Linked DNA regions of Homo sapiens: regions 1, 2 and 4 are each linked to region 3. Evidence: promoter capture Hi-C in human tissues and cell types (Jung and others, 2019). All regions are on one chromosome and are shown on one strand. Each heading gives the region's core, a stretch centred on a gene start or on the middle of the fragment in contact. The rest is flanking DNA. Distances are from core to core; before and after follow the strand shown.

Evidence for each region. Contacts are between HindIII fragments. The study calls those that stand out against the background at their distance.
Region 1: a contact is called between the fragment with the promoter of LRFN4 here and the fragment with the promoter of CNIH2 in region 3, in 1 of the 25 tissues and cell types used here (pancreas).
Region 2: a contact is called between a fragment that was not itself captured here and the fragment with the promoter of CNIH2 in region 3, in 1 of the 25 tissues and cell types used here (pancreas).
Region 4: a contact is called between the fragment with the promoter of RELA here and the fragment with the promoter of CNIH2 in region 3, in 1 of the 25 tissues and cell types used here (bladder).

Annotation. Positions count from the first base shown.
Region 1 is chr11:66,855,814-66,861,421 of GRCh38, reverse strand. It overlaps LRFN4 (leucine rich repeat and fibronectin type III domain containing 4), which reads right to left and starts at 4,358. Exons shown (of 2, transcript NM_024036.5): 1 at 2,329-4,358; 2 at 947-1,785. The coding sequence starts at 3,677. The coding sequence ends at 1,227. The region is part of intron 12 of PC (pyruvate carboxylase); the gene reads left to right. RefSeq lists silencers at 4,473-4,582, 4,743-5,272. The HindIII fragment of the contact is 20,544 bases long and covers 1-5,608 here.
Region 2 is chr11:65,762,024-65,767,843 of GRCh38, reverse strand. No RefSeq gene overlaps it. Among named protein-coding and RNA genes, the nearest start is that of AP5B1, 16 kb to the left of the region's middle. The HindIII fragment of the contact is 5,509 bases long and covers 1-4,906 here.
Region 3 is chr11:66,276,925-66,282,260 of GRCh38, reverse strand. It overlaps CNIH2 (cornichon family AMPA receptor auxiliary protein 2), which reads right to left and starts at 4,086. Exons shown (of 6, transcript NM_182553.3): 1 at 3,724-4,086; 2 at 1-2. The coding sequence starts at 3,804. It overlaps RAB1B (RAB1B, member RAS oncogene family), which reads right to left. Exons shown (of 6, transcript NM_030981.3): 6 at 4,769-5,336. It overlaps LOC107984340 (a long non-coding RNA gene), which reads left to right and starts at 3,736. Exons shown (of 2, transcript XR_001748274.1): 1 at 3,736-3,766. RefSeq lists a silencer at 3,981-4,310. The HindIII fragment of the contact is 9,186 bases long and covers 17-5,336 here.
Region 4 is chr11:65,660,476-65,664,165 of GRCh38, reverse strand. RELA (RELA proto-oncogene, NF-kB subunit) reads left to right here and starts at 1,250. Exons shown (of 11, transcript NM_021975.4): 1 at 1,250-1,340; 2 at 1,961-1,987; 3 at 2,078-2,229; 4 at 2,331-2,479. The coding sequence starts at 1,334. It overlaps RELA-DT (RELA divergent transcript), which reads right to left and starts at 1,160. Exons shown (of 4, transcript NR_183625.1): 1 at 1,018-1,160. RefSeq lists an enhancer at 744-943 and silencers at 1,034-1,443, 1,504-1,563. The HindIII fragment of the contact is 29,460 bases long and covers 1-3,690 here.

The DNA.
Region 1 (5,608 bases), core at 3,109-5,608, 580 kb before region 3:
CTTGGCCCTCACACAGAAAACACCAGGGAGTCTGTGCAGCGTGTTTGCCGTGGCCTGGGGTGCCAGGGCCGCCTTCTGAGTTTTCATACAGCACCTGGGGGAGCTTGACCCTCTGCAGGGCTGAGGGCCACGTCTGCCCATGCCCCCCAGCCAGTGCCTAGAAGCAGATAGTTCAGGAGGCTGCAGGGGCTGGGCCAGGTCGGAGGCTGCCCGGGCCTGGCCAGGGGTCCTAGCAGAGAAAGCAGGGCTCGTGCCCATCCGGCTGCCTCCCTGCAGCGAGGGAGGGCGAAGGCCGCCTTCCCAGGAAGGCCCAGAGCACATCTGAGCTGGCAGCTGCGGTCCTGCTCGGACCCACAGTTCTGACAGGAACCTTCCAGAGGATCACGGGCTGATGGCAGAGCAGTGGGGTTCCCTGCCCTTCCAGTCCCTTTGGGATGGCGTTTTACCAGTCCACAAGATGCCCTGGGAGGTGGCAGACACAGCTGTCAGCACCTGGAGCCATGAGGACTTTTCACTGTACGCTCAGCCCAGGTCCGTTCTCCCAGAGGGCTGTACCGTCCCCCACCTCCTCCTGTTGCTTAGTCCAGTCCTGTGTCCGCCCCGCAGACCCTGAAGTGCCATGGGGAAGGCGCTCACACGTGCTCCCCAGGCTTTACACTGGATACGGCGTCCTGTCGCCACCTGGCAGGAAGGGGCGTTCTTTGCACTTACAGGCGAGGGTAGGCCGCCTGCCCAAGCCCATGCTCTTGCAGGTCAGAAGACACCAGGCACAGCCCTTGGCCGCAGCCCTGGGCCGCCCCTGTGGACAGGAAGCCAGGAGGCCCCAGGCTGCTGTGACTGCCCCCACCGGCCCTGGTAGCCCCACCCTTGTCCGTGTGCCACCAGCGGCCCGTGTCCTGTCCTCCCGTCTCGGGGGACCTAGCCAGACAACACCAGAGACTAGCACTGAGGTGTCCCCAACAATTTTATTATAAATAAAAACAAGACTCCCAGTGGGTGGCTGCAGCCCCTGCCTCGGTGGCTGTGAGCACCTGTTGGAGGGGCCTGCCCTTACCCTGGTCTGGAGGCCAGAACCGAGGAAAGGGCTCCCTGCCCCTCCAAGTACACAGGGGAGCCTGAGGTACTGAGAATAAAAACCAGGGAGGGACTCCCAGGCCAGGCGGCGGCCCCGGGCCCTCTGCCCCACGAGGCTCATCCCTTGGAGCACACAGGAAGCTGCCCGTCCATCACACCACACTCTCTTCCAGCCGCTCGGCGCTGCCTCCTACCCCCCGGCACCCTGCCCCGAGCAGCCCCCCATGCACAGAGTGGCTCCGTCGGGCCCAAGCTCCTCCCAGGCGCCTGGCATAACCGTAGCACCCGGCATCTCCCAGGTCCAGAGAGCAGCTGCGCTGCGGCCGGGGCGGGGGGCTCCGCGGCGGGTGGGCCTTGGGTGTGGGGCTGGGGCCTCCATTGGTCTGGGACTGGACGTGGCTGAGCTTGAGGGGGAGGCGGCCATTTCCGGCCCCCCGGCCCCGAACCAGCAAGGCCACAGTGAAGACCAGTAAGGCAGCCACCAGCACACCCCCCACGGCCACGGTCAGGGTCCCGCCCAGCACGTGGGCCTGCAGGGCGTGGCACAGGGGCGAGGCCGGCAGCGTGGAGAAATGGGCACAGCCCAGCAGCCTGGTGGCCGTGAGGTCAGAGGGCCCAGCGGCCGGTGACAAGGCCAGCAGGCAGAGGTCATAGTCAGCGCCGGGGACGAGGTGCTTCAGCAGGAAGTGGTGGCTGGAGGCTGGGACAATCCTGCAGGCAAGGGCAGGTGGTCAGAGCCCGGGGCTGGGGTCTAGCCCCATCCTCACCTCCCCACTCCCGTGCTCCCAGCTCCAAACACCCCTCCCCCTGGGGCCACTCGGGCTCTTGGGTTCACTCAGGAAGGTGAACAGGCTGGAGAGTGTGGCCAGGAGATGGGTGTGTGCACTGGCACAGGACGCAGGCAAGCGAGGGGAATGGGGTGGGGGGATGGCACCAGCAGAGGCAGAAATAACACGCGGGCGCGGGCCATGTGCTTCAGACAGACCCAACCGCCACCTGCTGCCGGGGAGGCCTGCACAGCTCAGTGACACCTGGGACATCTCGGGGTGGGGTCCTTCTGCCGCCCCTTGAGCTCCAGCCCCCTCAGGCAGCCAGGCCAGGCCAGGCCACTGCTCCTCCAAGAGTCCAGCAGCCATGGTCGGGGAGGGGGTGTCAGCCCCAGAGAGAGGAGGGGTGGAAGCAAAGCCTTGTGGGGAGCAGAGGGCGGAGGAAGGGCGCCGGGAGTGCAGCCGGGTGTGGGGCACGCATCCTCACCGGTAGATGAGGGTCTCATCTTCGCTGCTGTTGTACTGGATTTGGAACATCCACACTGGGTCGGCTGGCCGCCCGGGACCCCAGCTCACCAGCCCTGAGGTGGCGGTCACCTCCGTCACCTGCACGGCTGGCTCAGACTCCAGCGTCCCCTCACCCTCGGCAGCAGTGCGAGCGGAGGCGGCGATGTCCGAGGGCCCGGGGCGGCCCCCCTCGGCACTGCTGTTCCCACCATGGGGCAAGGCCAGCACCCGCAGTTCTACTCGGGCTGTGGCCTCACCAGCAGGGTTGGTGGCGATGCAGGTGTAGCCCCCAGCGTCCCCAGCGCCGGTCACCCCAATCTCTAAGGTCCCGTTGGGGAAAGCCCGGGCTCGGGAGGAGTTGCCAACCAACCGGTCGTCAGGACCGACCCAGTGCATGGTAGGCGCGGGGTCACCCAGGGCCCGGCACCGCAGCGTGGCCCGCTGGCCTTCCAGCACCCAGAGGCGCTGCGTGTGGCGGGCAATGAGGGGCGGCTCACAGGAGAACTCGCCCTCGGGCACTGCCCAGAAGTAGCGGCCGGCCAGGCCGGGCGGGGAGGCGCACGTTTCCAGGTCGTCCGGCCGCGCCAGCCGCCGCAGCCACAGCAGCTCACAGTTGCAGTGCAGGGGGTTCCCGCTAAAGCTCAGCACCAGGGGGGCGGGAGAGGCCTCTGCATCACGCCCACGAGAGAAAAGCGGGTCCGGAGCCAGCGTGGCCAGGCGGTTGGAGGTGAGGTCCAGGCGGGAGAGCTGACCGAGCTGGGCGAAGGCGCCTGGGGGCAGTGCGTCAATAAGGTTATGGTCCAGGTTGAGGGTGTGCAGGGCAGGCATGGCGCCGATGCCGGCCCAGGGCACCTGCCGGAGGTTGTTGTAGGACAGGTCCAGGTCCTCCAGGCTCTCTAGGAAGTCGTCGAAGGCTCCCGGCGCGATGCGGCCCAGCTGGTTGCCGCTGAGGATGAGGTGCTGCAGATTGACGGGGCCCCGGAGGCTCCCGGTGCCCAGCTCCACCAGCCTGTTGCCGTCAAGGTGGAGGGAACGCAGGCTCTCGAGGTCCCCAAAGGCGCGGGCCCCAATGCGGGTGATGGCATTGCGAGACAGTGTCAGGTCCACCAGTCCCGTCATGTTGCGGAAGTCAGGGGGCCCCAGGGCCTGGATGAAGTTGTCAGCCAGCCGCAGCTCCACTGTGCGCCGGTCCACGTTGGGCGGCACAAACAGCAGGCCTCGGTGGGCACAGAGGGTGCTGAGCGACTCGGACAGGTTCTGGCAGACGCAGGGCAGCGGGCAGGCGGCCGCTCCACTGGCCAGCAGCAGCAGCAGGAGCGGCGGGGCCATGGTGAGCGCCCTGTAGGAAGGGGCCACAGCCCAGGCACAGGTGGGGCTGGCGCAGGTGCCCACTTGGGCCCAGGACAGTCCCAGAAGCCAGCTTCTGTGAGCCTGGCCCGGGGAGGGGCTGGGTCAGAGGCCCAAGAGGGCCGCCAGAGATGAGGGAAGGTTGGGGCCTGCAGGGCCAGGCCCCCCAGAGCAAAGGTCACATTTCCCAAGCAGTTAAGGGGGAGTCCAGGCGCTGGGGACAAGGTGAGGCATGAGGCAGGAAGCGGAGGAGGACCGAGAGCAGGGAGGGTCCCGGAACTTCCTTTCCCAGGCGTCCCCAGGAATCGCCAGCCGCCTCCCCACTCCCCGCCATACCCTCCCCCGCCAGAGAAGGCGCCCCCCGAACCTCCCGTGGAGTCCGTGGCCCCTCCCTGGCCGGCCCCCGCGCTGCGCCCGGCGGCCCCCTCACCTGGTGTCCGTCGCTCAGGGGGCGCGGGCCGGCCTCCCTGCGAGCCCGGCCGGCCCCCGCCGACTCCTGGCCGCTCTCCCGCGGGGACGAGGCCCGGGGATGACCGGCCGCCCGCCGCCCACCCTCGGGCCCATGGCGCTCGGGCCCGCGGCCCCGGCTCGCTCGGTTCCCGGCACCTTTTCCCGGCGCGGTTAGCGGTGGCGGCGGCGACAGGCGAGCGGGTGCGCGCCGGCGGGCGCGCGCGCCGCGGACACGCACGTGGAGGGCGGACGGGGAGGGGCGCGCGGGGATCCACCCGGGCCCGGGCCGGCTCCTGAGGTCACGGGGACACGCGGCCGCTGCAGCGCCCACGGGTGGCGCCCAGTCACGCCCGAGGCCCGGGCCGGCGCGGGCCCTCCGCGCTGTCCCCCGGCGCTGCCGCAGCGCACTCACCCTGGCACAGGCGCGCGCGCCCCCGGCCATCCTGGCGCCCCGGCATCCTGCACCGCACGGGCGCCCGCCGCCGCGGCGCGAACCTCACTCTGCAGACAGCCAGACAAAGCGCCTGCTCGCGGGCCCCTTCACCATCTCCCGGAGACGGGCGTCTTTGTCACATGTCGCTGGGCACCCTCCCCAACACACCCACACATGCCCACACACCCACACGTCCCTGCACCCACGGGCAGGGCCGAGCGCAAACCCGCACTGTTGCTGGGACCCTTGCGTTCACAGACACACGCTGAAGGTCATAACCGTTCTGCATCACCGAGTCACGTGGAGGGTCCCCAACCGGCACGGGGTTCGGCCGTGGGGGGGGCTGGGGCGGCGCCCCTGGCAGGGCTGCTGCGGGGTGGGGCCGAGAGGGCTTGGCCTCCGGGCAGGCGCCCCGCCCCCGCCGCCCCGCCCTGTCCCCAGCTGCCTCTCGCCTCTCCCTCCCTCCCCAGCTGCCCCGCCCGCCCCGCGGGCCAGGCGTTCCGGAGCCAACCGGCCTCCGCCTCGGGCCGGATTGGTCTGCGCGGCGCGGCTTCCCAACCGCCGGGGGCACGCATTGGGAAGCTGTGCGTCCTCGCAGCGCCTGCGGCCCCTCCCTCCCGCTCTGTCGCCGCCGGGCCATTTCCCTGGAAGAGCGGCTCGGAACCAGCTCCTCTCAGAGAAAGGGCTCCCGGCGTGAGGTGGGGGAGGTTCTTTGCTTCCTGGTTGAGAAAGCTGGGGCTTCGGTGGCTCGGCGAGCCTGGTTTCCTTCCAGCTGTGCCCGCCACCACCAGTGGTCTGCCCAGTTGGGAAACAGGAAGTCACCACCTCCCCGTGTCTCCTGGTCCTTAAGCCACCTAAACCTCAGCCATCCTCGTTCTCCCTCCAGCCCTGATCCCCATGGGCCAGGTGGCAGGAAACTCGGGGAAACCCAAGATTGGAATTCTGATCCTGTCAGCACAGCAGTGTAGTCCTGGGCACGTTACCTGACCACTGAAAACAAGTTCCTCCTGTAGGCCAGGAGAGTTGGATG
Region 2 (5,820 bases), core at 903-3,402, 510 kb after region 3:
TACTCAGGAGGCTGAGGCAGGAGAATCACTTGAACCTGGAAGGTGGAGGTTGCAGTGACCCGAGATTGCGCTATTGCACTCCAGCCTGGGCGACAAGAGCGAGACTCCGTCTCAAAAGAAAAAAAAAAAACACGTTTTCCATGCCTTGGCAAATTGTCATACTCCTTCCTAAGTTTGGATCAACTTTCAACATCTTATCCTTTGTACTTCCAACGTTGTGAAATATCTCCAAGTTCTTTTAAACTTTTTGCCAGCGGCATTTCTTCTAGGATATCTTTATCCTTTTTGTAACCACTGCCTGCCGTAATAATTATCCTTGATCCTCGTTAGTATAGTGGTTAGTTAAACAAACAAAATCAGCTGGATGTGGTAGCTCATGCCTATAGTCCTTAACATTTTGGGAGGCTAAGGCAGGAGGATTGCCTGAGCTCAGGAGTTCAAGACCAGCCTGGGCAATATAGTGAGACCCCATTTCTAGAAAAAAAATTTTTTTTTTGTATTTTTAGTAGAGATGGGGTTTCACTATGCTGGCCAGGCTGGTCTCGAACTCCTGACCTGGTGACCTGCCCTCCTTGGTCTCCCAAAGTGTTGGGATTACAGTCGTGTGCCACCATGCCTGGCCTAATTTTTGTATTTTTAGTAGAGACGGGGTTTCACCATGTTGGCCAGCCTGGTCTCAAACTCCTGACCTTAGGTGATCCGCCAGCCATGGCCTCCCAAAGTGTTGGGATTACAGGCATGAGCCACCGCCCCTGGCCTCTAAAAAAATGTAAAAACCTAGCTGGGTGTGGTGGCACATGCCTAGCATCTAAGCTACTTGGGAGGCTGAGGCAGGAGGATTGCTTGAGCTCAGGAGTTTGAGGCTGCAGTGAGCCATGATTGTGCCACTGCAGTACAGTTTGGGCAACAGAACGAGACACTGACAAAAAAAAAAAATCCTTGACATCTGGGGATAGATTTCACAGCAACATCCTCATCTGTGCTTGACAGTTTCACATTAATCAATTCATGCCAACTTCTGAAATGATGAAACAAACCACTCTTTACCGTTAGTAAAAGTTTCTGCAGTCTCCTTGAAATTACTGTTTTCTGTCAATGTGGCAATTAACTTCAATGCTTCAGCCTGAATGCTGGCCAAACCAATGGGGATTGTTAACAAATTACAGTCTTCAGTTCAACATAGAAGTAAACATTCCATTTCAACCACGAACGACTTCTGTTTCCAGCGCAATTTAAACTAAAAGATGTTGAAGCAGCCTGGGCGTGGCGGCTCATGCCTGTAATCCCAGCACTTTGGGAGGCTGAGGTGGGAGGATTGCTTGAGCTCAGGAGTTCGAGACTAGCCTGGGCAACAAAGAAAAAAAAGTAAATTAAAAGAAAAAAATTTAAAAAAAATATGTTGAAGCAACTTTACCTTGTTTATTATATGTATTAGTTTATTTTGTGTTGCTCTAAAGGAACACTGGAGACTAGGTAATTTATACAAAAAAGACGTTTATTTGGGTCACGGTTCTACAGTCTGTACGAGAAGCATGGCACCAGCACCTGCTTCTGGTGAGGCCTCAGGAAGCTTACAATCATGGCAGAGGGCAAAGAGGGAGCAGTGTATCACATGGCAAGAGAGGGAGCAAGAGAGAGGGAGGGGGAGCTGCCACACTCTTTTAAATAACCAGTTCTTGTGTGAATTTACTACCACTCATTACCTCGAAGAGGGCACCAAGCCATTCCTGAGGGATCCACTCCCATAGCCCAACACCTCCCACTAAGCCCCACCTCCAACATTGGGGTGGTCACATTTCAACATGACAATTGGAGGGGACAAGCATCCAAACCATATCATGATATTCATCAGACTTTCGATATAGTTCATGCCACAGCTTCATATACAATTTCACTTCCAGTCTTATCATCCTCATTTTTTTTGGCTGCACTTTTATATTTGTTAGCCATTCCCCCTTCCAATTATCCATCCAATTTATTTTTTATTTATTTATTTTTTGAGATGGATGGAGTCTCACTCTGTCACCCAGGCTGGAGTGCGGTGGCACAATCTCGGCTCACGGCAACCTCTGCCTCCCAGGTTTAAGTGATTCTCCTGCCTCAGCCTCCGAGTAGCTGGGATTATAGGCGCCCACCACTACGCCTGGCTAATTTTTGTATTTTTAGTAGAGACAGGGTTTCACCATGTTGGCCAGGATGGTCTTGAACTCCTGACCTCAAGTGATCCATCCACCTCAGCCTCCCAAAGTGCTGGGATTGCAGGTGTGAGCCACTGCGCCCAGCCCAATCATTGAATTTCATAAAATGTTATATCTGTTGATCACTGAGAGATGAGGAGGCAACCCACCTATACACTTGTCTGACGTCTGCATGAGCTGAATAACACACCGGCACTGACCAGCCAATCACCACTAGTCTTCGAAAGCAGTGATGTCCTAATCATGATGCCCATCTGTTATTTATGTCATTTTTTTGGACTAAAGAGCCAGCAGCAAGGTTTGCACCTTATACAATTCGTTAAAATTCCATGGCAAATGAAGTTTGAACCATGCTGGTGGGGAGGACTGGAGTTATTAAACTAAAATGTGGTAAGCCAAATATGTCCATATGGGGACTGGGCAAAGCAAAGACTGCCCACATACAGCACCTTAGCCTTTGTATGAGTTAGGAAACAATGGACTGTTTTTCCTTCTACATTCACACTCAACATAGAATGCTTCTGATCACCAAAATGTGTGGGTGATCAAACCCACACACCAAACAATTCTCTAGTGGACACTAACAGGGTGTCTTATAATTTAATTCAATTCTGACACCATCTACCTGGAGTTACAGTCAGAACCCACAGGTTAAGGGCTCAGTCCTGCAAGACTGTGCACACCTCAGAAGCCAGTCGCAAGCCGCAGGCTGTGACCTGTGCCTCTGTCCAATGAGCTATAAATAGGGGTTCCCACAACCCCATCCTGGAGTTTGATAATTTCTAGGCCAGCTCACAGAACTCAGGGAAACTTTACTTACGTTTACCCATTTATTCTAAAGACTATTAAACAGAATACAGATGCACAGGGCAAAGCATGTCAGAAGACCCGCTAAGCTTCCCTGCCCTCTCTGGGATGTGCCACCATCTAGGCACCTTCACGTGTTCAGCAGCCCAATAGCTCTCCAGATTCTGTAGTTCCAGGATTTTTATGGAGGCTTCATCACCCAGGCATGGTTGATTATTAACTCAGTCTCCAGCCTCTCTCCCCTTCCTGAAGAATGGGGGGTGGGACTGAAAGGTTCAAGCTTCTCATTATGGCTTGATCTTTCTGGCGACCAGGCCTCATCCAGGAGCCAGCAAGAGTCGGTCCTCTTGTTAGGACAGAAGATGCTTCTACCCCCACAATAATATTGCCATCTGGGGGAAAAAGGACTTGTTAGCAGTTCATGTTTGTACTCCTAGAAGTACTTTCAAGAAGTATAAAAATGAATACACAGATATTTAAATGTTAAAACATTTGTGTTTGTGGTCAGTCAAGTTTCTACATAAGAGTGAGGTGCAGAGTGATAAACCAACTTCAAATAACATGACGATTCTCCTCTGATGTAATGTTGCCCATTCTAACAAAGTGTTTGCGAAACCTTAATTACTTGCCCTATTTGGTGAGAATCAGGCAACGAACAGAGAATCACATTTAATATGGATATAGAAAATATTTCGACCGGGCCCAGTGGCTCACACCTGTAATTCCAGCACTTTGGGAGGCTGAGGCCGGGGATTACAAGGTCAGGAGTTCGAGACCAGCCTGGCCAATATGGTGAAACCCCATCTCTACTAAAAATACAAGAAGTAGCCAGGTGTGGTGGCATGCACCTGTAATCCCAGCTATTCGGGAGGCTGAGGCGGGAGAATTGCTTGAAACCGGAAGGCAGAGGTTGCAGTGAGCCAAGATCACACCACTGCATTCCAACCTGGAGGATCCGTCTAAAAAAAAAAAAGGTAAAATTTTCTGTAGCCACTATATAACTATTCACTTTCAGATTAGTTTTGCATAATAGAGATTCCTTTATGCCACTAAGTGGAGAATAAAAGGTTTAAAAGTCAGAAAATCGCTCTCCCTCTCCCCTTTCCACGGTCTCCCTCTCCCTCTCTTTCCACGGTCTCCCTCTCCCTCTCTTTCCACGGTCTCCCTCTCCCTCTCTTTCCACGGTCTTCCTCTGATGCCGAGCTGAAGCTGGACTGTACTGCTGCCATCTCGGCTCACTGCAACCTCCCTGCCTGATTCTCCTGCCTCAGCCTGCCGAGTGCCTGCGATTGCAGGCGCGCACTGCCACGCCTGACTGGTTTTCGTATTTTTTTGGTGGAGACAGGGTTTTGCTGTGTTGGCCGGGCTGGTCTCCAGCTCCTAACCGCGAGTGATCCGCCAGCCTCGGCCTCCCGAAGTGCTGGGATTGCAGACAGAGTCTCGTTCACTCAGTGCTCAATGGTGCCCAGGCTGGAGTGCAGTGGCCTGATCTCGGCTCGCTACAACCTCCACCTCCCAGCCGCCTGCCTTGGCCTCCCAAAGTGCCGAGATTGCAGCCTCTGCCCGGCTGCCACGCCATCTGGGAAGTGAGGAGCGTCTCTGCCTGGCCGCCCATCGTCTGGGATGTGAGGAGCCCCTCTGCCTGGCTGCCCAGTCTGGGAAGTGAGGAGCGCCTCTTCCCAGCCGCCATCCCATCTAGGAAGTGAGGAGCGTCTCTGCCCGGCTGCCCATCGTCTGAGATGTGGGGAGCGCCGCCGCCCTGTCTGGGACTTGAGGAGCGCCTCTGCCCGGCCGCCCTGTCTGGGATGTGAGGAGCGCCTCTGCCCGGCCGTGACCCTGTCTGGGAGGTGAGGAGCGTCTCTGCCCGGCCGCCCCGTCTGAGAAGTGAGGAGCCCCTCCCCCCAGCAGCCGCCCCGTCTGAGAAGTGAGGAGCCCCTCCGCCCGGCAGCCACCCGATCTGGGAAGTGAGGAGCGTCTCCGCCCGGCAGCCGCCCCGTCCGGGAGGGAGGTGGGGGGTCAGCCCCCGCCCGGCCAGCCGCCCCGTCCGGGAGGTGGGGGCGCCTCTGCCCGGCCACCCCTTCTGGGAAGTGAGGAGCCCCTCTGCCCGGCCACCACCCCGTCTGGAAGGTGTACCCAACAGCTCACTGAGAACGGGCCATGATGACAATGGCGGTTTTGTGGAATAGAAAAGGGGGAAAGGTGGGGAAAAGATTGAGAAATCGGATGGTTTCTGTGTCTGTGTAGAAAGAAGTAGACATGGGAGACTTTTCATTTTGTTCTGTACTAAGAAAAATTCTTCTGCCTTGGGATCCTGTTGATCTATGACCTTACCCCCAACCCTGTGCTCTCTGAAACATGTGCTGTGTCCACTCAGGGTTAAATGGATTAAGGGCGGTGCAAGATGTGCTTTGTTAAACAGATGGTCGAAGGCAGCATGCTCGTTAAGAGTCATCACCACTCCCTAATCTCAAGTACCCAGGGACACAAACACTGCGGAAGGCCACAGGGTCCTCTGCCTAGGAAAACCAGAGACCTTTGTTCACTTGTTTATCTGCTGACCTTCCCTCCACTATTGTCCTATGACCCTGCCAAATCCCCTCTGCGAGAAACACCCAAGAATGATCAATAAAAAAAAAAAAGAAAAGAAAAAAGAAATTTCCTATAAATGGAGTGATAAAAAAAAAAAAGTCAGAAAATCATGTCTTGGCCTCTGAAAGATATCAACAAATGATATTTTTCAGTTGACTATGATTGTTGATTTGGAGGTCAACTTCTTATAACATTGAGACAATATATCAAGGCTATGAGAATTCTA
Region 3 (5,336 bases), core at 2,837-5,336:
ATCTGGGGGAGGGGCGTGTGCCCGTCAGGGTTGGGGCAGCAGCTTATGGCCTTCCCCCAAGTCCTTCTGTGGGATAGTTTACTGAAGAGGACCAGCCAGGTGGAGCTTGTTGCAAAGGTGGAGAAACCGAGGTCCAGGGAGGAGCAGGGCCTGGTCCAAGGTCATTACAACAGTCCAGAAGGGAACCCTAGCGTCTGGATGCCCAGTTCAGGCCCATGTCCACTACACCCCCTTCCAAAACATCCCAAGACATGGCTTCGTGTCTGCCCTGCCAAGTCTCAGGCCCTGTGCTGAGCACTGGGGCTCCAGAGGCCTGGGATGCAGCCCCTGCCCAGGAGGAACCCAGGCCCAGAGGGATGATCACTCTGCCTTCCAGGTGATCAGGGTTTGGGGTACAGGGAGGACCTGGAGTGGGCGCTTAACCCTGTGTGGGGGGTGAGGGAGTTCAGGCTGGACTCGGAGTAGGTGTTGGTGAGCAAATGGGGGAAATGCAGTCCAAGCAGTAGAAGGTGCAATGGCAGAGGGGTGAAAGGTCAGGAGACATTCAGGAGGCTGCGGGTTTCATGGGGCTGGCGTGACAGCGCAGCGAGCAGGAAGAAAAGAGAGAGTGGTGGAAGAGGAGCTGGAGAATTCAGCAGAGCCAGACATGGGCGCCCTGTGAGGCCAGAGCAGGAGTTTGGACTTACTTTAACACAAAAATTTTGGGGGGAGGCATTGAAGAGTACACAGCAGCAGAGTGGGGTGGTCAGGTCCATGTCTTAGGATTGGTCCATGTCTCAGGATTGGTGGGGCAGGAAATCCGAGCTCACTGACAGTCACAGCTGAGATCTAAGTGGTGCTTCTCCTGGCCGGTATGTGGATTCACTCATTTAATTCTTAACAACCTTATGACTTAGGTACTAGTTTTATTTTCATGTCTGTTTTGCAGATGAGGAAGCTGAGGCAGGTTAAGTGACTTGTCCAGGGCCACACGGCTGGTTAGTGGATTCTAACCCAGTGTGACTCCAGAGTTAAAATTCCTAACCACTGTGTCATACTCAGGCCAGACCAGCAAGGGGACGGTTTGGAGGGTTAGGGGCAGGGCTGATGGTGGTCTGAGTGAGGAGAGTTGTAGTGGAGACGGAAGGCGTGCATGGGATTCTACAGCTCTTTAGGAGCCAGACTCCAGAGGGTTCAAATGGCTGAGAAGTGAAGGCAGAAATCTAAGGTGGCTTCAGGTGTTGGGGTGTCTGGCAGACGGCAGTGTCCTCACGGGTGGAAACTCTCCAGGGGAGCAAGTGTTTGAGGGGATGATGGGATGGGAAGGAGCTGACAGGTGACTTGGGGGAAATGGGCTGGCAGAGGAGCCTGCTGGGGTCCCCTCCTGTCGGCTCCAGCCCTAGGATGAGGCAGCAGGCCCACCACCCCCAGGCATCCCAGGCCCCAGACGGCTCAGAGAGAAAGAACATGGGCTTCCTGGAGGGAGCTGAGGCCATCTGGATCATCCCCCCTCCCCGCCCAGCTCCCCATTGACTCTGGGCAGCGCCACTTGGCACGCACAGCAACAGGGTCCACAGGGAGCAGAAGGGTGCCGTCTGTACCCCAGAGCTGGCACCACCAGCAGGCGGCGGGCGTCACCCCTCCCACCCCCCAGGCTGCCTGGCGCTGACTCAGCCCCCCGGAACAAACAATCCCCCATGGTGACAGCTGACACGCGTCACTCACCGCCAGGGTTGCCTAGGAACCACTGGGGCCTGGGCTGAGGGTCTGGAGTGGGATCTGGGGTCCCGCCCTGTTAAGAGTCTAGTTCTTAGCAGCTGTGGACTGAGGACCACGCCTCCTATCCCCTACCACCCAGCAGGCCGCACTAGGCACTCTGATGTGCACAGGTCCACTTTGCCGGCGAGGAACCAGACTTGGGACAAATGACTTGCTAAGATTGTCCAGCTAAATGGCTGAGTGGACAGAGTACCTCACACAGGTGCTCAATCAATATCTGTTGAATGAACAAAGACATTTCTTCAAAGCTTGGGCCTTTCCTCCCAGCCTGGGCACTCCACAAGGGCAAAGTCTGGGTTTTATTCATCCTTGACCCCCTCAAAGCCACCCAGAGCCTGATCTTTGGGAAGCATCAATGCAGGCGTGGTGGATAAACTGCTGAGGATCCCCTGAGGACAGGGACCCCACAGGGGCTGTGGGAAGGCCCTGGGTGGGGAAGGCCCCAAAAAGAGGCTTCTTGAATTCCAGGAGCCCTTCTCCCAGGAGCTGGTCAGCTCTGCATTCCCTAGCCTGTGGCCCCCAGCTCCCTCCAGTCCTTAGAACCCTAGCCCTCCTGCCCCTACCCCACAGAAAGAAAAATAGAGTAACTCGGGGTGCGGGGGAGAGGGGGAAAGACAAAGCAACCAAGACCCAGAGAGAGAGCAGAGCCAGGCCAAGGAGTGACAGGGCTGGAGCTGGGGTGTGTGCTGAGGTGCCTTTGGGGGCTCACTCTTCACACAGTAGGGGTTCAGTCTATGGATTCCCGATGTCAAAGAGCAAGGTGGCAGGGGATGGCAAAGGGAGCGCAGGGGGAACCATGGAGCAGGCGGCAGGTCCCAGGAAGAGAAAGGAGAGAGGAAGTGGAGAGCCCGGGAAAGAAGCAGGTGAGGCACCGGGAGGAAGGAGGGAAGGGCTATGGGAAATGGGATTGAGGGAGGGATAAGAGGACCCCTGAAAGGGAATGACAATCAGGGAGGTGTGCGCGGGAGGTGTGAGCAGAGGATGCTGAGCTGAGCCAGCCAGGGCCGAGCTGGGCAGGCTGTTACAGAAACAGGCACGGGGTTTGGGTGGGGGTGGGGACGGAGGGCAGTAAAGTGGGGCCAGGGGCCCCCAACAACCAGCTGGAGGCTGATTGATAGTTCTGTAGTGAGGGGACGGGAGCCAGGCAGAGGAGGCCCTGGAGGAGAGGAGCGGGAGGGGAGGAGGAGGGAGCCTGGGGGAAGCGATGGGTCGGATGCAGGATGAGGAATGGACATTTTGAAGAACCAGGTGTGAGGCTAGGCCAGGGCGAGGGACAGACCAAGGGGTATGTGAGAGACAAAGGGGAAGGGGGACAGGAAGAGGAGGGAAGCTGGAAAATGGAGAGGAAACCTGGGGGGCTGGGAAGCCCCCAACAGGAGGGGTAGGGAAACCCAAGGTGAGCCGGTGGTGGGGGCTAGGTCTCTGGGGGCTGATGAGAGCCAACTGCTGCTTGGTCAGGGAGGGGGCTGGGAAGGCAAAGGGTTAATGGACTCTGAGATCTGTGGGTCCTGTAAACAGATGCAGTTGCCATAGCAACCAGCTCCATCACTCTGGCTGGAAAAACCCACAAAGGCGGGGGGGGGGGGGCAGCAGACAGACAAACTGCCCGACGGACTAATGGAGGCGGCTGGATGGTGGTGGGGGGGGACATAGAAGATAAAGCAACAAAAATGCCAGAATTCCACCCCCCACCTCACGGGCTGCATGGGAGCAGAGGACGAGGGCAGAGGAGGGGGTCAGAGACCGACTGACATACACACAGACAGGCGGGGGCGGCGGAGGAAGGGGGGCCCCGGGAAGAAAGCCGACCACGGGGGGTGTTAATGGGGGCGAAGCCGACAAGCCGACGGCTGGGGGATAGCAAGTTTCCCCTGGGCTCTGAGACCACCCGCCCTGGGTCCCTCCAGCTCCGCGTGGCCCCTGCCCCCCACCCCGCCCCCAGCCCCAGCCCCAGCCCGGCCTTACGTGCCAGATGACAAAGAAGATGAGGGAGGCGCACAGCACCAGGGTGAGCATGTAGCAGAACGCGGCGAAGGTGAACGCCATGGCCCCCGCGCCGGGCGGCGGCCCGGGGGGCGCCAGCGCGGGGCCCGGGCGCAAGGGGACGCCCCCCGGCCCGCGCTTAGGGCCGGCCGGGCATGGCCCGTGGGGCTCGGGGGACGTGGGTGATGCGGCCGGGACCGGGACCGCGGGGCCGTGGGGGGCGCGGGGCGCGGGCCGGTGGGCTCGGGGGGCGCGTCCGCTGCCGGCTGCCCGGGCCCCGATCGCTCATCCTGCGATCCCTCGCCCGCGGCTCCCTCGCTCTCCAGCCCGCGAAGCCGGCGGGGCGGAGCCGGGGGCGGGGCCGCCGCGCGAGCGGCCTCGGGCGGGGCTGGGTCTCCGCGGGCCCCTCGTCTGCCCGCCCGGCTCGGGCGCCACCCCCAGCCCCGACAAGCCCGCGGCCGTTCACCCTCCGGACAGCGTAGACGCGGCCGCCCCCGGCACCCCGCACCCCTCGGCACTCCAGCCACCGGCACAGCCGCACTCGGCCCCCTCGGGCGGGCGCTCAGGGCAAAGGCTGAAGTGCGAGGCACTTGTCACTGTCGGAGACGGCAGAAGCACCTGGCTGGGACACACAATGACGCCAGGACAGGGGCTGAATGGGAGCAGTGGGGTTTTGGGGGGCGCTGAAGGAGGTTGGGCCAGGTGCAGTGGGGGCCCTCTCAGCGGCTGCGCGACCCCACACCTCTGCCGTGTGCCCCGCGGGAGTTGGCGGCGGCACGCCAGGTATGAGCTGATGGCCGCCTGCCTCTTTCCCTGACAGAACGGTGCTGGGCCCTTGGGGACAGACCACAGAAGCACAAGCAGCTTTCCTGGCCTCAGGAAACGGGGTCAAGGGCTTTTGCCAGCAGCCTTAGGACACAGAAACCAAGCCAGGACCCCCGTGCACCCCACCAAGCCCAGGGTTCCAGTTCCATCCCCCCACCCCAAGGCTGGGCTTAGACCACAGACCACACTTGGCCACCACAACTTCCTTGCAAAAACCCTCAGCTCACCCGAGGGCCAATGGAAATTTATTAATTTTTTTTGTCCTTTTCCATCTTTCCCCAAGTGGCTTTTCCTTGCAAAATGCCTGACATGACACCAGAGGGGAACCTGGGAGCGGGGGGCACCCCAAGGGGGCAGCCCAGGGACTTAAATACAAGCTGGAGGGCAGGGCACAGGTGGGACAGGCAAGAGACAGCACGAGGGACATGGCTTCTCAGGGAGACCAAAGACTTGCTTTCTTGCAGGAAGCAGCTGTGCCAGAGGGCAGGGGACTAGGATCCTGGGTGCAGAGTGGGTGAGCAGAGAGGCCCCCAATCCTGGATGGAACCCACATTCCCCAGAGAAGTAGCGGCAGGGGATGAGGGCCTTCCCTGGTGGGCTCCAGAGACGGAGTGGGGAGTGAGCCAGATGTGCTACCTTGGGGAAAGGGAGGAGGTGCTAGCAGAGTGAGGGTTAAGGCTGGTGCCCAGCCTCTGGCACGGTGGGCCTTCCGCCTCCGCCTGACATGGGGACAAAGGGGCACGGTGGGCAGGCAGCGCATGGGTCTGTCT
Region 4 (3,690 bases), core at 1-2,500, 620 kb after region 3:
GTCACCTGAAGTCGGCCTCCCCCGCCCCCTGCCAAAAGTAAACACTTTTCTAATCAGGGCCAGCCACTGGAGAAACTGAAATGAGTGGGCGGGGTGCTAACTCTATTTTCACTTTTCTCTTCCTGTTTCTTCAGAGCCTGGGAAACAAGTCAGAATTTCCAATCTTTTCCAATTCCCACATGATTTCCTAATTTAAGACGAATTCAGAGAAAATAAAAAAGTCTTTCTCCATCTGGAGAAGACTCCGCCCCCTGCAGTGGAGCATCCTCCTTTGGGGATGAGGCCTGGGGTGGGGGTGCGTCAGCCCCAGCCTCCACACGGACGCGCCTTGGGCTTGGTCTTGGGGGAGCTACCTGCACTGTGGGGTCACATGACAGAATTAGTGGTCAGCCCTAGCTGGAGGTCCAGGGCAAACACAGGCGGGGGCAGGGGGGTGGGGGGTCGTGAGCCTGCTGATTCAAGTGTCCCTGTGGGTCCCGCACCTTCTGAGACACAAGCGCCAGGCTTCAGAGACGAGGCTCCGGGATTTACCCCTGGGGGCCTCCTGCTCCCACAGCCGATGAGAGCCGGCAGTTTGGCTGTATCGTAAGCTGGCGCTTTAGCTGGAGAGGGACGAGCCCTCGGCCAGCTCGCCAGCGGGAGGGCCTCAGTCGTCCCATCCGGGCTGTAGGCTCCGCAAAGCTCTTGATGCACTGTCAGGCTGGGAGGTCCGGCCGCTCCCATTCCCCCACAGCCGCATCTAGATTGGGGTGGGTAGGACATTTTAACGTGCTTCTGAGACAGCCACCACCGAAAGGCACCTTTAGCGGTTAGGAAACCCGCGCGGAGTTCAACCACCCGGCCTCTGCGGAGCAGAAGGCCCGGTCGGGCTTTTCCCTGCGCGGGGCGGGCGGCCGCAGCCCAGTAGCCCTGGCTTTGCTCCAGACCCGGCCCAGAGTGACATCACCAAACTCCGCCGATCGGCGGGAGGGGGCCCTGAAATCCCCTAAAAACAAAGTGAGTAATCGGCGGACCCACCCTCCAGGCGGGGCCGGGACCCGGGAGCTAGCCGAGCCACCGGGCACGCCAGCCTCTTCGTCCTCGGCGAGGCGCGCACTTGGCCCCGACCCCCGGCAGCGGCTGTGCGTGCAGCCTCTTCGTCCTCCGCGCGGCGTGCACTTGCTCCCGGCCCCTGCGCCGGGCGGCGGCGGGGCAGCGCGCAGGCGCGGCCGGATTCCGGGCAGTGACGCGACGGCGGGCCGCGCGGCGCATTTCCGCCTCTGGCGAATGGCTCGTCTGTAGTGCACGCCGCGGGCCCAGCTGCGACCCCGGCCCCGCCCCCGGGACCCCGGCCATGGACGGTGAGGTCGCCCTCTGACCCCGCGGGGTGGCATCGCCGGGGCCGCCGCGGCTGTGGCGGGAGCCCCCGCGCCGCTTTCCGCCCCTTCCTGCGCCGACGGGCGCTGCGCAGGGAGCGGTCGGCCTGCCGGATGGTGGCGCGGGGCGGGGCAGGCGGGGAGGGGTCTGACTCAGTTTCCCCTCTGGGTGGAGGGGGTGGCCCTTGACTCAGCATCCTCCCTGGGTGGGGGAGCAGAGGGAACCTTGACTCAGTTTCCCTCCACACCGTCCATGGGGGCAGCTCTGGCTTCGTTTCCCTATTAGGGGAGAACGCATCTGATTCAGTTTCCTCTCTGGAGGGAGGTGGGGCGTGCCCTCCCTCAATTTTCCTTAAGAAAGTACAACAGGCCCTGATTCAGCTTCCCTCTGGAGAAGAAGGATTCCTTACCCCGTTTTCCCTCAAGAAGCAGGTGTTTCTGGTTCCTTTCCTCCACCCCTTAGTTTCACCGCAGGTTCTAGGGAGCAGGTCCTGACTCAGTTCCCCTGGGAGGGAGCCTGGCTTCTCCTCTCCGTGGAGAGCAGATTCCTCCTTGTGAGAATGGGCATTGGGTGTGTGCTGACCCTGATCTCCCTCCCCTTTCAGAACTGTTCCCCCTCATCTTCCCGGCAGGTAAGTGGCCCCCGCGGCGGTCGGGGAGGTGCTCCCTGGGGTAGGGCAGTGGGGGCAGCCGCCTAATGGGGCTGCGGTGTCCCCTGGCAGAGCCAGCCCAGGCCTCTGGCCCCTATGTGGAGATCATTGAGCAGCCCAAGCAGCGGGGCATGCGCTTCCGCTACAAGTGCGAGGGGCGCTCCGCGGGCAGCATCCCAGGCGAGAGGAGCACAGATACCACCAAGACCCACCCCACCATCAAGGTCAGCACTGCGCCAGGGTGTGCGGGGAAGGGACTGTGGAACCCCAGCCCTCTGTGTTTGGGAGTCAGGTTTGGATGTCTGGGCCTCTGTACTTTGGACAGATCAATGGCTACACAGGACCAGGGACAGTGCGCATCTCCCTGGTCACCAAGGACCCTCCTCACCGGCCTCACCCCCACGAGCTTGTAGGAAAGGACTGCCGGGATGGCTTCTATGAGGCTGAGCTCTGCCCGGACCGCTGCATCCACAGGTGAGGTCCCTGCAGGCTAGGAGGCCCAGCATGAGGGGACAGGAGGCGGGCTATGAAGTAGCCGCTACAGTGTTACTCCTTTCTGGACCCAGGGCAGAATTCCTCACTCCTTGCCCTGACTCAGCTCTGCAAGTAAACTGCCTTTGTCTTGAAATTATCTATTTGTACGTTTACTCTAGCAGATGAGTTCCAGGGGATACGGATGGGTCCCTAATCACTTCTGAATTCCTGACCCCTGTAGCTGGAAGGACAAGTCCCTCAGAGTCACGTCTCTTGTTTGAGGAAGAAAACCATTGAACCAGCACTCTCCCCTGGAGTTGACATTGCAGTTGACAGAGACAGGCTGTAAAAAAATATACAGGCCGGGCATAGTGGCTCATGCTTATAATCCTAGCACTTCGGGAGGCCAAGGCAGGAAGATCTCTTGAGCCTAGGAATTCAAGACTAGCCAAGGCAACATAGTGAGACCCCATGTCTACAAAAAATAAGAAATTAGCTGGGTATGGTGGCATGCGCCTATAGTCCCAGGGAGGCTGAGGTGGGAGGATCGCCTGAGCCCAGGAGGTCACTGCTGCGGCAAGCTATGATTGCACCACTGCACTTGGGTGGCAGGGCGATACCTTGTCTTTTTTTTTTTTTTTTTTTTTTTAAGAAAGAGTCTTGCTCTGTCCCCAGACTGGAGTGCAGTGGCGCGATCTCAGCTCACTGCAACCTCCACCTTCCGGGTTCATGCCATTCTCCTGCCTCAGCTTCCCGAATAGCTGGGACTACAGGTGCCTGCCACCACGCCTGGCTAATTTTTTGTATTTTTTAGTAGAGACAGGGTTTCACCGTGTTAGCCAGGATGGTCTCAATCTCCTGACCTTGTGATCTGCCTGTCTTGGCCTCCCAAAGTGCTGGGATTACAGGCTTGAGCCACCGCACCCGGCCCGACACTGTGTCTCTTAAAAATAAATAAATACACAGATAAATAAACAAGGTGCTGTCAGAGTAACAGTTTCAGTCCTGAAAATAAAACGAGGTCATAGGATAGAAGGATAACCTGGGGTGGGGGAGTTAGGGGAGCTGGTGTGTGATGACTTTAGATTGGGAGGTCAGGGAAGGCCTCCCTCAGCTAAGACTTGAATGGTGAGAAGGAGGAGAGAAGTAGGAAAAGAACATTCCAAGCCGACCAAACAAGTGCAAAGGCCTTGAGGTGGGAATGAGTGTCC